5 separate regions of the Homo sapiens genome follow, and regions 2, 3, 4 and 5 are each linked to region 1. The links are contacts of gene promoters, found by promoter capture Hi-C in human tissues and cell types (Jung and others, 2019). All regions are on one chromosome and are shown on one strand. The core of a region is centred on a gene start or on the middle of the fragment in contact, and the rest is flanking DNA. Distances in the headings are between cores, read along the strand shown. Region 1 holds the start of ACVR1C (activin A receptor type 1C). Region 2 has its middle 4.5 kb from the start of CYTIP. Region 3 overlaps ACVR1 (activin A receptor type 1). Region 4 overlaps LOC105373712 (a long non-coding RNA gene). Region 5 overlaps ACVR1 (activin A receptor type 1).

What was found. Contacts are between HindIII fragments. The study calls those that stand out against the background at their distance.
Region 2: a contact is called between a fragment that was not itself captured here and the fragment with the promoter of ACVR1C in region 1, in 1 of the 25 tissues and cell types used here (spleen).
Region 3: a fragment that was not itself captured here is called in contact with the fragment with the promoter of ACVR1C in region 1 in 1 of the 25 tissues and cell types used here (spleen).
Region 4: a contact is called between a fragment that was not itself captured here and the fragment with the promoter of ACVR1C in region 1, in 1 of the 25 tissues and cell types used here (spleen).
Region 5: a contact is called between a fragment that was not itself captured here and the fragment with the promoter of ACVR1C in region 1, in 1 of the 25 tissues and cell types used here (mesenchymal stem cells).

The regions. Positions count from the first base shown.
Region 1 is chr2:157,627,564-157,630,263 of GRCh38, forward strand. It overlaps ACVR1C (activin A receptor type 1C), which reads right to left and starts at 1,301. Exons shown (of 9, transcript NM_145259.3): 1 at 1,009-1,301. The coding sequence starts at 1,081. RefSeq lists a silencer at 1,016-1,245. The HindIII fragment of the contact is 14,203 bases long and covers 1-2,591 here.
Region 2 is chr2:157,447,247-157,449,946 of GRCh38, forward strand. No RefSeq gene overlaps it. Among named protein-coding and RNA genes, the nearest start is that of CYTIP, 4.5 kb to the left of the region's middle. The HindIII fragment of the contact is 3,303 bases long and covers 1-2,700 here.
Region 3 is chr2:157,770,712-157,773,411 of GRCh38, forward strand. All of the region lies in intron 6 of ACVR1 (activin A receptor type 1), which reads right to left. Among named protein-coding and RNA genes, the nearest start is that of ACVR1, 100 kb to the right of the region's middle. The HindIII fragment of the contact is 5,036 bases long and covers 1-2,700 here.
Region 4 is chr2:157,473,444-157,476,143 of GRCh38, forward strand. The region is part of intron 3 of LOC105373712 (a long non-coding RNA gene); the gene reads right to left. Among named protein-coding and RNA genes, the nearest start is that of CYTIP, 31 kb to the left of the region's middle. The HindIII fragment of the contact is 5,596 bases long and covers 1-2,700 here.
Region 5 is chr2:157,788,164-157,790,863 of GRCh38, forward strand. All of the region lies in intron 3 of ACVR1 (activin A receptor type 1), which reads right to left. Among named protein-coding and RNA genes, the nearest start is that of ACVR1, 87 kb to the right of the region's middle. The HindIII fragment of the contact is 5,724 bases long and covers 1-2,700 here.

The DNA.
Region 1 (2,700 bases), core at 51-2,550:
GAGGAAAACGACCCACCATGAATATAGCTATTAATGTCAAACAGATTGTCATCTGGGAAAACAAAATGCATCAAAATCAGCTTCGGACAAAACACAGCTCTATGGGAAAACACCAGATTTTTATGTGCAAATGTCTTCAATGTCTGATAGAAATTTTTAAAGAATGAGTTAGCAAAGAATCTGCTCCTCCTCTGCATAATCCAGGACAATGTAATGAAAATAGTTTTCGAGGTAAAGGGCTTTTAGTCACAGCATATTATGATTTTACCAAAGATGCATTTGCCCCACTTTCTAGTAAACATTATAAAGAAACGTCTGGCTTCTAGATTGGGTAGAGGGCTCTATTTAGCCTATCAAGGCACAGACCTGTTATAAACTCTGGGGCGCTTGCCAGAATTTTTTTCCCCAGGAACTCTGAGTAAAGATCGTACCTCGAAAGCAATGTGCGTTGCAAACCACACAGATTTAAGCTCCCACTCTCGCCTCCATAGCTTGGCATCTGCGGCTTTTGGGGTATTCCCCGCCTCCTAAAACTCAGACTAAATCACCACCTCCCACCACCACCATGCCACCATCCTTGAGCAGCTCTCAGGGGCTTAGCACAGAGCGCGTCCGACGCATACCTGCAGCCCTCCAGGTCCCTGCAGGGTGAACCCAGCTCCCAGCCATGCGCGCACCCACAAACGCTCTCCTATTTTCTCCGCTGCAAACTGCCCACAAATTAGTCACCCACCTCACCCCTACTACTTATTCCCCCACGTCCCTGCTGCCTTTTCCCTCTTCCGGGCGGCTTCGTCCCCAACACACCTGTCTACCCCTACGGCTGCCAGACGTCAGGTGCCCACGCTGCACCCTATCCCGCGCCCCCTCAATCCGACTGGCGCTTCCCTGTCCGCCCCGAAGGTCAGTTTGCTCGGAGCACCCCCTGTCCCCCACCCCCGTGCTCACCCGCAGACCTCCTCCCAGCTCCCACCCTCGCGGGCGTCGGGAGAGAAACCAGCACCGTACCTGGCGAGAGCTCGGCGGCCGCTGCGAGCAGCAGGAGAGCCTGGCGGAGCGCTGAGCAGAGCGCCCGGGTCATCGCCACCAGGCGGCCGCGCCGGGGCTGCGAGGCCCCAGAGCAGAGCGAGGCAGCCGGGGCAGCACGGCCCGCTTTGAAGTTCCCGGGCCGCGGGAGGGGAGCGCGGCACCGACACCCTTTTGAAGTGCGCGGTTGGCTCTAGTCAGTGTGGGCGCCCCCCTCCCCGGCCGCCCCCATCCCACGCCCCCTGCGGCTGGCGGTGCGCGGCGCTCCTGCCACTGGCCCCGCAGCCGGGCGGGGAGCGGGTGGTGGGGCGGGCGGCAGAGCCCGCCCCTGCCGCGCCTCCGCCCCCTGCGCCCTCTCGCAGCCGCCCGGGCCTGCTGCTGCAGGGCAGGCAGGCAAAGGCGGCCCTGTGCCCGGCAGTGAGATCGCCCAGAGCTGGGGCGAAGAAAGAGGGGGCGTGGGGAAGCAGTGCGGAGCCTCCGGGACTAGATACTCAGGAATGGGGCTTCTCACGGGAGGAAAAGCCCCACTGAGACTTTAGGGAAACTTCAACTACGCGGCGATTGCGCCCAGGTGATCCGCTCTATAACCTCCCGCAGAAGAGCCAGCCTCCTAGCTCTCCTGACGTTTGTTGTCCAGGGTCCTTAAGTCCAACCAGGTTGCGCTGTGAGAGCCCCGCGGGCTTCCTACTGGCTTGTCCCACCCCTGCGTCCTGGCCATTTGTGCCTCTGGGGAAGGGCGCCCTCTCTGTTCATCCCTGGAAATGACCAGTTGTCCGACTGCCTTCTGGACCTATAAGCTTTGGTTTAACAAACTTCATCTCTTCTTGGGTGCCTTTTGGGAACCCTTCCCTCTATGAATGGCGACCAAAGCTGGACCACCTGCGCCAGGTGATGTGGCCATCTACAATGTGTGACCCACGTCTGGTGGTAAAAGACCTCACCTATGGAAGATAATTTCGGCAGCTACAACTTCAGCAATTGAAGAACTAAGGGAACATACACACACACACACACACACACACACACACACACACACACACACGGATTAAGGGAAGGGGAAGAATTGTTTAAAGTAGTATATGAAAAACTTGTTTGAGTATTGTTTAATCCCTAGAGGCTAACTGTCAAACGGGTGCCTGAAAATATAAGGCCTGGATTGTGCCTGAAAATATAAGGACAACGGCAACATTACCAATTTATAGAAATTAAATTCAATTCACCTATGGAGCCTGAACATTAAAGTGAATGGGATTATTTCAATCTGAACAACGCGAAAAAGCAAGAATACAATACTGGTGTTATTACTACTGTTGGGGGTTCCTTGAAAAGTGATAGCGTCATAAAAATTGCTTTAGAGTAAAACATTTCTTGCTTCTTCACCTAGCTCAGGACTAAATTATATGCTAGGTGTTCTAAGTTCTATGAAAGACCTATGGTGAAATGTTGTATGTAATTGACTTTATTATCAAAGGATCACAGTATGGGAGATGAGATGGTTGTTGGACTTTGAGATGTGGGTGGCATCCTGAGGATCTTTTCTGCCACCATCTTATATTCCTAAGCACAAAAAAACTTTGTTCTTGTTTTATCCTGGATCCAAACAAACAAAAAACTGGAGATGTGGGACAAATCTGAGCCCTTTCAGACACCCACAAAACAGATGCTTTTTTAAAA
Region 2 (2,700 bases), core at 69-2,568, 180 kb before region 1:
AGAGGACTCTCTCTCCACCATATGAGGACACAGCAAGAAGGCAGCCTCCTGCAAGCCAGGAAGAGATCCCTCACCAGGAACTGAATCTGCCAGCACCTCAATCTTGGACTTCCCAGCATCTAAAACTGTGAGAAAATAAATTTCTATTGTTTAAAGCCACCCAGTCTATGGTATTTGTTATGCTATGGTATTGGTTATGGTGGCTTGAACTGACTAATACACTCTCTAAACTTTAGTGTTCACATATCTAAAACAAAAATTTGCAGGAAAAAATAGACAGAATAGCCCATGAATAGCACATGGTATAAAGTAAGCTATATCTACTGAATTTTGCTTTAAGTAACAAGCCTTCAAAAGGAAAAGCTAAAAAAGGATATAACATGAATTCTATATGAATAGCCCTATTCATTACTAAGTGCCTCTATGTGCAGCAAGGATGCCCTTGTCACCCTGAAGAAGTCTAAAGGCTACACAATACATGTGAATTCCTTACCATCGAATATCAAGATGTGTTTGAAAACCATCATCAGAGCCAATGTGTGAAATTTCTGGATTATTGTAAGACACAGAAGAAGAGTAACTGGTTGCTTAAAAAATGAGACTTCCTCTATGCCTTTCTGATCTTAAGATAGCTGTTGAGTTTTTTGTTTGTTTTATTTTTGCTATTTGCCTTTATTTGCACAAGAAGATTTTATCTGGCTTCCTGGAACATCACAGGATTTTGTTTTGTTGTGGTTTGGTTTGCTAATTTGTTTTATTTTGGCCTTTTGCCTTCATTTGGAAGGGAAGTTTTTATTTGGGTCTCTGGAATGATGTAGGAGATGTGTTAAAGTCATATAGACAATATTTGAATATTGTGCCTTTGAATTTATATAAGGTAAATTTGATTTAGTAAAGTTACTCTCATATATGAGGATCCACTAACTGTGAAAACTGCTCTGTCCTATGTATCACCTTATTTGAGTGATGGAGCTGGGTAGACAGATGTCCTCATCCAACTCAGTGTGGATCACTGGAATTATGAACACTACTCCCCAGAGAGTAATAGCCTTCTTCAGAAAAGGATAAACTAAAAATTTGTAACTAGGACAAGCCCTGAAAAATAGGCAGCTCAGGAAAGGAAAATAACAGAAACAAAGGTCATAAAGACCCTATATTAGAAATCCTAGTGTGATATAAGCCAAATATTGGCTTAGAGTTGTGACATGCATATTTAAAACAACACAAAGAAAAACTTTAAACCTAATATAAATAATAGCTAGCAATACATCAAATCTACTATGTTTTTAATACAAGTGCAAGGAAACAATTTTCTGATTTATTCAAGTTTAATTCAATCAAATCATGAAGCTATGGGTAGATTGCAATATCATTCAAGGGATTAAGCCACTAAATTCAATTGGGGCTTTAAATAGATTATCTAGATCAGTGTTTCATGAAATAACTCAGTAAGATAATTTCAACACTCTTTTAGATATAAAAGTAGACACATTCATTTGGTGCACTTATCACCTAGAAACATCATTAACTGCACTTTTAAATATTCCTTTTGCAACTTTATCTATTTCAGGTTTAGGGGGAGTACTTTGAGCATGTTGGGCATATGGCAGAGATGGCTTCATGTTGAAGGGTCCATGCTGAAGGTACACAGTAGTATTGGGGCCACCTGGAAGCAGTCAGGATGTGCATAGGTTTTAAAAGGCAGCTTCTCCTGTGGACTTATCCATATATCTATACAAAATGCTCTGTGAATGCGGGTTGTTTGAGTCTTAAGAGGTAGTCTATGCAATGATTTTAAAACTGTACTCATGAAAATGTAAGGAGATCCTTTGAATGTCCTGGGAAATAAGGGAAGAAGAAGAAAAAGAGAAAGGTATGAGAGGGGGGATTCTGAGACTTTCAGCCCTGACATCAACCATTGTAGTTGTAATTGCTTTGCTTTATATTGTGTTCCCATTCATACCACATAATTTAATCGGGTTAAAAATAAAACTGAATGAAAATACAGGCTTATAGAAAACAGAAAAGACTCTTCACATAGAGTGTGAAGAACAGTAGACTATTGAATCACTCTGTAAAAAAAAAAAAAAGCGTCAGCCCTCTAATGAGTTCCCCAATTTCTACAGACTATCACCTTTTTGGAGAGATAAAGCCCTAACAGCAAAAATCCCTTTAAAAAGAAACACAAAGTAACCAGGATAACCAATAGTTAAAGGAACCCTAATTCTGGATTTGTTTAAAATTCATTCAAAACAAACTTTTGTTCATTAACCTATTAAGACAAAGGTAGAGAGGGTTTAACTCAACCGGAATGAACAACATTTTTGTACTAAGGGAATTGTTCTATAATATGAAGATGTCTTTCCAAGAAAGATTAAAGCTTTAAGAGAAATATATAATTGGTTGACCACTTATTACCCGGAGTATTTTCCTTCTTTGAGGACTATTGTATTTTTTAAAAAGTAGCTATTTTTATTTTAAAGTTACTTGATTAATAAAATATTTAAGAATATGTCCAATCAAATATAAACGTCAAGATCAAGATATAGAGGCATATAGACCACCTGTCTATATAGAGAGATGGATAGATAATTTTCATTTAGTTTTATTTTTAACCTGATGCATATATATCTTTATCTTGCTGCCATAACAACCATGAAATAAATGAATTGTATTCACCACACCCAATAGAAATTGGCT
Region 3 (2,700 bases), core at 66-2,565, 140 kb after region 1:
TGGAAGCTGCCCCTCTCATCTACCATATTGTGATAACAAACTGCCTTCTGTATCTGCATTGTATAATTAGCTGCTAATTACTCAGTTTACATTTAAATTCCTCTGTTGAAAGGTATAAAATGCATATGACTTTTAAAACACATGAAAGTAAAACTTAGGAAATGGTACAGATTATTAAATTTCAATTGTGTTCTGAAAGCCAAAAAAGTGTACATCAGTAAACTGAATTCCTTCCTTGGTTCCTTCCCTTCACACAGGATCAACATAGGCACTGTCCAAATTGGTGAATTTAGATATGCATTTTTTCCACAAAGGAGAACAATTAAGTTTAAAATGTGTGTTCTAAGGATTAAAAAACAAAAACAAACCAAAACACAATGCTGCTAGAAGATCGACATGCAGCCACTGCATCCATAAAGATTTCTTGGCGGAAGATGTATTTCAAAAAGAGGATTTGCAAAGTCTTAAATACATAATCCCAGAAGAGTTCTGACTTCTTCTGATACTGGTCATGGGTATTTGTTTGTCAGACAGCTCCTGTGATGCTACAAGTGGGCTACACTGAAAAGGCTACTTGGAGAATACATTTTGGAAAACGTGGCAACTCTACTTGTGATCTAATCTGTTTGGTGCATGGCCCCCTCTTGCAGCAGCAACACACTTGTCAGCTTGTCAACTACATGCTCCCTCTTCCATTCTTCTCTTTAATTATAGGTAGGGGTGATCAGGGAGGTTGGAGGAGGAGGTAATTACCACAAGACTATGAGGATCAACAAGGGGTATAATCAGCCTAGATAACAAGGCAAGAGATATAACTTGCAGGGCAGTGGGGCTTTCTACCCAGGCAAGTGACTGCTGGAATCACACAGCTTCTAATAAGCAGCTGCAGCACCACCTGCATATACAGGAATACAGTTCTTTGCTGGAACACTAAGTCACTGAAAACCCAAACATGGAGAGAGAAGCAGTTCTGTCCAGGAGACACACCTGAATCATAATCACAACCACTAAATCTAGATTACCTGACAAGAATATCATGTCCCTATTAAATACCAACAACTAACCCAAAAGGATGTTCAATGTGGCTAACAAGTGCTCATTGTGGGCCACTGTTGGGTCACACAAATATAATTTAGTACACGATTCCTTTTAATAAAGCCATAGCAATTTGCCAGCATTTATAGCTCAAGATGAGGCCTAGTGCTAAGATACTACAAATACTGGCTGCCAGAAAATGGTATGCTAATCTTTTCCTGCCTTTGGTTCTGTTTTGTATCTTTATTTTCCCTTTGTCCTCATTTTGTCATTAGGGATGAGAGCAAAATATCCCAGGGAATTATGGATACAAAATTACCTCAAATCCTTTTTTTGGTTGTTGTTTTAAAGAAAACAGAAGATGAATGTCGAGGTAGGTAAATTAAAATAGAAATATTGTTCAATGGTTTTCAAATGCTTTTAAGTTGTTAAATGCTTTTTGCAAATTCATCATTATGCAGAAGCCCCTAAAACAAAAGCAGAGCTGCCCAAAAGCCCTGGCCATGGAGCCCCACAAAAAGGCTCCCTTAAGGCACCTGAAATTTGTAGTTTCACTGATCGTCATCCAGAAATGACTCCCCTAACCCAACTTCCCATGTTTTTGAACCAAAAATAACATACCATCCATGCAGTTCATCACATATATTTTTACTAAAAGCTGTACCACATGAACACACTAACTACAAGCTAATGAAAGGCACTGCTTTTATTAAAGTCTTTAGTCCTAACCCAAGAAAATGCAATAATGATATTTATACTGTTTCAAAAGAATGCTGAGGAATATCTATAGAACCAGAAACTACATACTTTAAAGGTGCATTACTATTTTGCCATTTGGACTCTGGAGCCAATCTCTGAAGACTAATCTTGAGATAGCTTGCATGGAATAGTAGTGGAGAGGGGAGATGAGACAGGGAAATGTACCCCTTCAATGTCTTCCCACCACTATCCAGATAATCTTGTTCATAATCAAATAAGATACTAGTTAGTACAAGAGGACAACTCTGGTTGAAATTAATGAGCACATTTGGGGCTTTTCCATCTTTATTTTCTCCATTCACAATCTGCCGTGGAGGAGAAGCGAGAAGCAGCAAACAGTGACAATAGCCGTAGACCTAGAGAAAGGACAACCAAGCTCCCGCTGGTTACTCCTGTGCCTTGGGGCAGCAGCCACTGCTCTTCCTACCTCTGCCCTTCCCCGTTTCTACTACTCAGACTGGGGGTGTCCCTCTTTCCATGAAAACAAGAAGAAAATCTGGAGAACAGCAGCCAAGTGGTGGGGGCAGCTTATAGGTCACCTCCCAAAAGCAAAAGATGCAACGGCAGGAGCTGCAAAATCCAGCCCTCGGAAACCATGAGCACTAGGAGGAGGGTGTGGAGAGGTTGCCAACCCATTATTGCTACTGCAGCCATCCCTGCAAGCCGTCTAAAAGAGAAACTTAGGAAAATGATTATGGAACTTGCAAATACCTACCACATAAAAGTAAAGCTAACAAAAATCAGGAAATAGGCACTTTGTACCATCTTCCAAGAGAGCCAATCAGCAGCATATAAAACAAGCTGTAAAAAACATTTACAAATTTTGACCCAGGAACCCCCAGTTCCTGGGAATTTTTTCTGAGAACTCAAAAGAAAGAAGCAATGTGTGCAAAATCTTTTTCAAGC
Region 4 (2,700 bases), core at 55-2,554, 150 kb before region 1:
CTTAGTGACTCCAAAGGTATTTGAGCCTACTTGTAGACATTCCAGTTTTAAATTTGCATGTTACAATTCTGGTTGTGACTTTATACTTACAAAGCAGCAGCCAAAGTTATAGCTATACTACCGGTAGGTATGTACCACAGAGAGATGAACTGGCCCAAGGGACAAGATGTTCCTGTAAACAGGCATTTGCATTTGAAAATGTGGCATTTGGGGTACAGTACTTGGTGGCAGCCAAAACTGCCTTCAGAGAGAAAGTATAGATGGAAGAAGAAAGTGAGAGTGGAGGAGTGTGAATACATATGCATCATCTCCTTGGCTCAGCAGAGCACAGCAGCAAAATAATGCATATGCCATGATGATTAATGCCCTGGGACTCAGTCATGCTTTGCAGATCCAACAACCAGCATCTCATACCTTGGGCTGATGGAGAACCCAATGCAATCTTACTAAGACTAAATGCAAAGAAATGTTCTAGAGGAAAGAAATGTTGTAGTGACAATTCAATGGAAAACACAGTTTTAAGTATATTTTATTTCTGTAAAAGTTTATTGGGCATAAGCAATTATGTTTATGTTTTAACAAAAATATACTGCTATTTCCTAAAAAGAAATTCAGGAAAACAACATTTTTTTCCTCTCAGCCTACATAAGTGATCACTTACTGCTGGAATATGAGATTAGGTAGTGGTAGACAGGCTATAGCAAGAGAAGACACGATCAAGGCCCCAGGGTAATTTGAAGAGGGAGGGAGAAACTGAAGAAATGAACATGAGTGTGTGGACCAGGCATCCATTATGCTGAGGACAAGTATGTAAAGGCCTGAGTTCAGGAGGCTTTTTTCAGTATCAAGAAATCCAAGTGAGAACTAAAAAATAGGGACATAAATTCTCCTAACCATAGAGCAGATTCTACAGGCAAGAGATACAAATATCTACCTTCCTGGGAAATAAAGTGTTTGAAGAAAATAATGAGACCTTCAAACTCCTCTAAGGCATTTTAGAAAGTCTAACTGCAATAAAGATAAGAAAGTTGGAAACTTCCACATATTTAGACTATAAAAATCAAAGTAATAGCTAATAGACAAATTACATCTACTTTTGCTGCCCCCCTCCCCCAAAATTAAAATATTGCATAAATTGAAAGGTCATGGACTTAAACAAAATAAAGAGAAAATAGAGACTGATTTTGAAGATTTATTATTTTGAAAACATCTTAACCAAAATATTTTAGAGGTTGAAAATATATGTGGCATCTATAAAAATGTAAATTTGGGCAGAGAACTGGTTTGTTTTAGAAAAACAAAACTCACTTTCATCACAAGACAGAGAAGCTCAGGTCTTTCCTTGCAGCCGTTCTATACACTTCAGTGCTTTGAAGGAGCTGGCCATGAGCACGAATTACTCCAGTATTTCTATTTGCTCTAAACTCCATTCCAACTCTGCCTTCACTTCAGATTTGTAGTCATATCCGTGAGCCTCTCACCATTTCTAATGATCTGCCCTTTTTTATTTGTCTCGGTATTTCCTTTTGTATTTGTTTCTTTTCCTTATTTAAATACATTTTTCCCATGATTATCTCTCTGTTGCAGATAATTTGTAAAGTAGAGAGGATCCCACTACCACCAAAAATCATCATGAACATTTGTCTTAACCTCCCTAGTCCTTTTTTATTATTGATTTTAACCAGATGAGATAATTATGCATAAATAACTATGTATATTCTCTTATTACACTTAAATAGTGTATCTTAAAACACTATCTTGTTACACTTAAACACTAACACTACCCGCTATAATTTTCTTTTATCACTAATAACTAATCACAACATGATTTTAATAGTGATATGACAGTCCATACTATAGCAGAACCATAATTTTCTAGTTTGATAGTAATCTAATTTTATTAAATATTGTTATTTCTGATAGTTCACTGTTAGAAATAATAATGTGATCAAATTTGAACATAAATCTTTGTCCATATAACTATTAGTATAAATCCTTACATTAAAAAATAGTGGTTTAAACCCCATTGAAAAGTAGGCAAAGGATATGAACAGACACTTCTCAAAAGAAGCGATATATGTGGCCAACAAGGATATGAAAAAAAGCTTAATATCACTGATCACTGGAAAAATGCAAATCAAAACCATGATGAGGTACCATCTCGCACCAGTCAGAATGGCTGTTGTTAAAAATTCAAAAAAATAACAGATGCTGGCCAGTTTGCAGAGAAAAGAGAACACTAATACACTGTTGGTGGGAGTGTAAATTAGTTCAACCATTGTGGAAAGCAGTATGGCAATTCCTCAAAGAGCTAAAAGCAGAACCACCATTCCACCCGGCAATCCCATTACTAGGTATATACTCAGATGACTATAAATCATTCTACCATAAAGACATATGTATGCGAATGTTCATTGCAGCACTATTAATGATAGCAAAGACACGGAATCAGGCTAAACGCCCATCAAACGACATCAATGACAGACTAGATAAAGGCAATGTGGTCCATATACACCATGGAATACTGTGCAACCATGAAAAAAGAATAAGATCACGTCTTTCGTGGGAACATGAATGGAGCTAGAGGCTATTATCCTTAGCAAACTAATGCAGGAACAGAAAACCAAAAACTGCATGTTCTCATTTTTAAATGATAAGAACTTATGAACGCAAAGAAGGAAACGACAGACACTTGGGTCT
Region 5 (2,700 bases), core at 122-2,621, 160 kb after region 1:
GCCCCACAGAAAAGCACAGAGTGAACAAAGTAACTTCCAGACTACAGTAGTCCCCACTTATCCCCCCTTATGCACCGTTTCACTTTCCACTATTTCGGTTACCTACCATCAACCACAGTCCAAAAATATTAAGCAAAAAATTCCAGAAATGAACATTTCCTAAGTTCTAAGTTATATGCTGTTTGAGTAGCATGATGGAATCTCACGTTGTCCAGCTCCATCCTGCCCAGGACATGAATCATCCATTTGTCCAGCGTACCCACACTGTAGATGCTACCATCCTGCTAGTCACTGAGCAGATGTCTTGGTTACCAGATCCACTGCCATGGTATTGCAGGTGCGTTCAAGGAACCCTTCCTTTACTTAATAACTGCCCCAAAGCACAAGAGTGGTGATGCCAGCCTATTGTTATAATTGTTCTATTTTACTTTGCTATTGTTGTTAATCTCTTCCTGTGCCTAATTTATAAATTAAACTTTATCCTAGACATAGGAAAAGATGTAGTATAGATAAGGTTCAATACTATCTGTGGTTTCAGGCATCCACCGGGGGTCTTGGAATGTATTCCCCATGGATAAATAGGGGGTTACTGTATTTACTTTCCATCCTAGATGAAGCCAAAGCGATTTTAAAATAACAGTCAAAAGGGTAAAAACTTGGGGCAGAGTCCAAGCCTCTGATAATGCTACTTCCCTATCCTCCAATTTCCCCATTCATTTCCCAAGGCCCTACCAAGTCCAGAACTCCATGAAAGGTTAATGAAGAAAGGAATCCCATGTCTTCAACCCCAGGAAGATGTGCCTGTGCCTCTGTATCCCAGCCTTTATAACTTGATCTTTGCTTTACATATCTTCTTTCCCCTATCAGTCTAATTAATATAGTCCAAAACAATTCATTAATTCTCAGGTTTAACATATTGAACAAGATTGGCTTATCAGTCACAGAATAAAGATCTTACAGTCACAATGAGACAGTTAAATTTGAGTCATTTTGAGCTTGTCCTTTTTTACCCCTGGGCCCACAGAAAGGCTCCAGGTGCCTACACTCCAGGTAGAAACAGAAAGCATCTCATTTGAGTGCTGTGAAGCTGAACTGGCTTTTCAAACACACAATCCCTCCCCTTCAATCTGTGCCATGGCAAACCATTCCCAGTTTCCACAATAATCTTGGACTTTGGCAGAAGAAAGCCAGCTAAATCTGAGATGTGTCACGAGGCCACTGGCTGGGGAGCAAGAATATCTAAACACAAATCCAGGCGAGAGCAACAAACAAGAGTTTCCGCAGATTCCCTCTGGCTCCTGTAGCTGCAGATCACTGACAGCCTAAAGATAACCCAAGTATCTACAAAGGGTCACTTTTAAATAGTAGCTTTAATGCCACCAGTCATTTCAGAAGCATTTCCTTCCAGAGCCTGCTTCCATCCACACTGGCCACCAAGTCTGTCCAACAATGGCAAGCTTACTGAGGAGATTAAAGTCCAGAAGGAAATGGAAGAAATCCCAAAAGGGAACAGACAGCTCCTGACATGCTGGGATTCTATTCTGTGATTGTACTTGTGCCAATATTTGGACTACTGAGAAATAATAATCTAGCAAAGAGACACCTTGTAGAAATGACTAACAATCACTAGGGATTAAAGAGCAGGTATAAAATGAAACAAAATAGTTTAACTCCAAAACTTTCTAAAGCTGAGGCTGTATAAACCATGGATGGCTACCACTAGGAGACTTTTAGGAAAGCCTTTCTCTCAAAGAGAAAACTTACTTAGTTTACTGAACTGCTGTAAGGAGAACAATATGAAGTCTTCAGGCACATACTGTACATACGTAGCCAGTGTGGCCACCCACTAACCACAGAAGCACCAAATGGAACTGCTCAGAAGCCTGCTGCTTTTTTTTTCTTCCTTTTAAGTAGGGCCAAAGTTCCCAAGATCTTCCTCAGACCATTAAAATCTGCTCAGCACCTCACCTGTCTACTAAGTAAGTCCACATTGTCCTAAATGGCAGTCGGCCAGGGGCTGGTGTACAAGGGACAGGTGCTCAGTGGGCTTTTTTCAGTTGCTGTCAGCTCAGTCAGGAGCTGCACATGCTCAGTAGGCAGGCAAGTTTTGGTTCCGTTTCGAACTCTGGGCAGCCAAGAGACATACACCTTCACAGCTGCCAGGGCAACCAGCTGCCCAGTGCTCCTCCCAAGATGGGAGCAATGAAAACAGTGTAACCTGGCCAGCCAACATGCCAGTGAGCAAGCTGTACCTCTCATTTCACTGCCTGGGTTATTCTGAGCTGGGCTTATTGACACTCCATGGCAACACAGGAACAAAGGGCCAGCTAGAGGGATTTAAATGTCCTGCAAAAGTTGTTAGAAAAGTCAGCAGCTCTGGCTTCTGCTTTCATAATAAAACTAGCAATAGCATTATTATTAGATTATTGTTGTTTTGTCACTGTTAATATCATTTGTGAGCCACCTGTAACAGTTCTACGTTCGCACTAAGGCTTTGTTTTTGTTTTGTTTGCCACCATTTAGTTGCTACAGTTGGGATGCCTTTGAAAATGGAGTATGTGTGCCTGCCTGTCCCTAAACTGCAGGAGGATTAGTTTTTCCCATCCCTTTACTTCTCATCTTGCCACACTCTATGATCCACTTTCACCACACACCACTCTTTCAAAACACAAACTGCACCTACTTAATCTCTCCACAGTT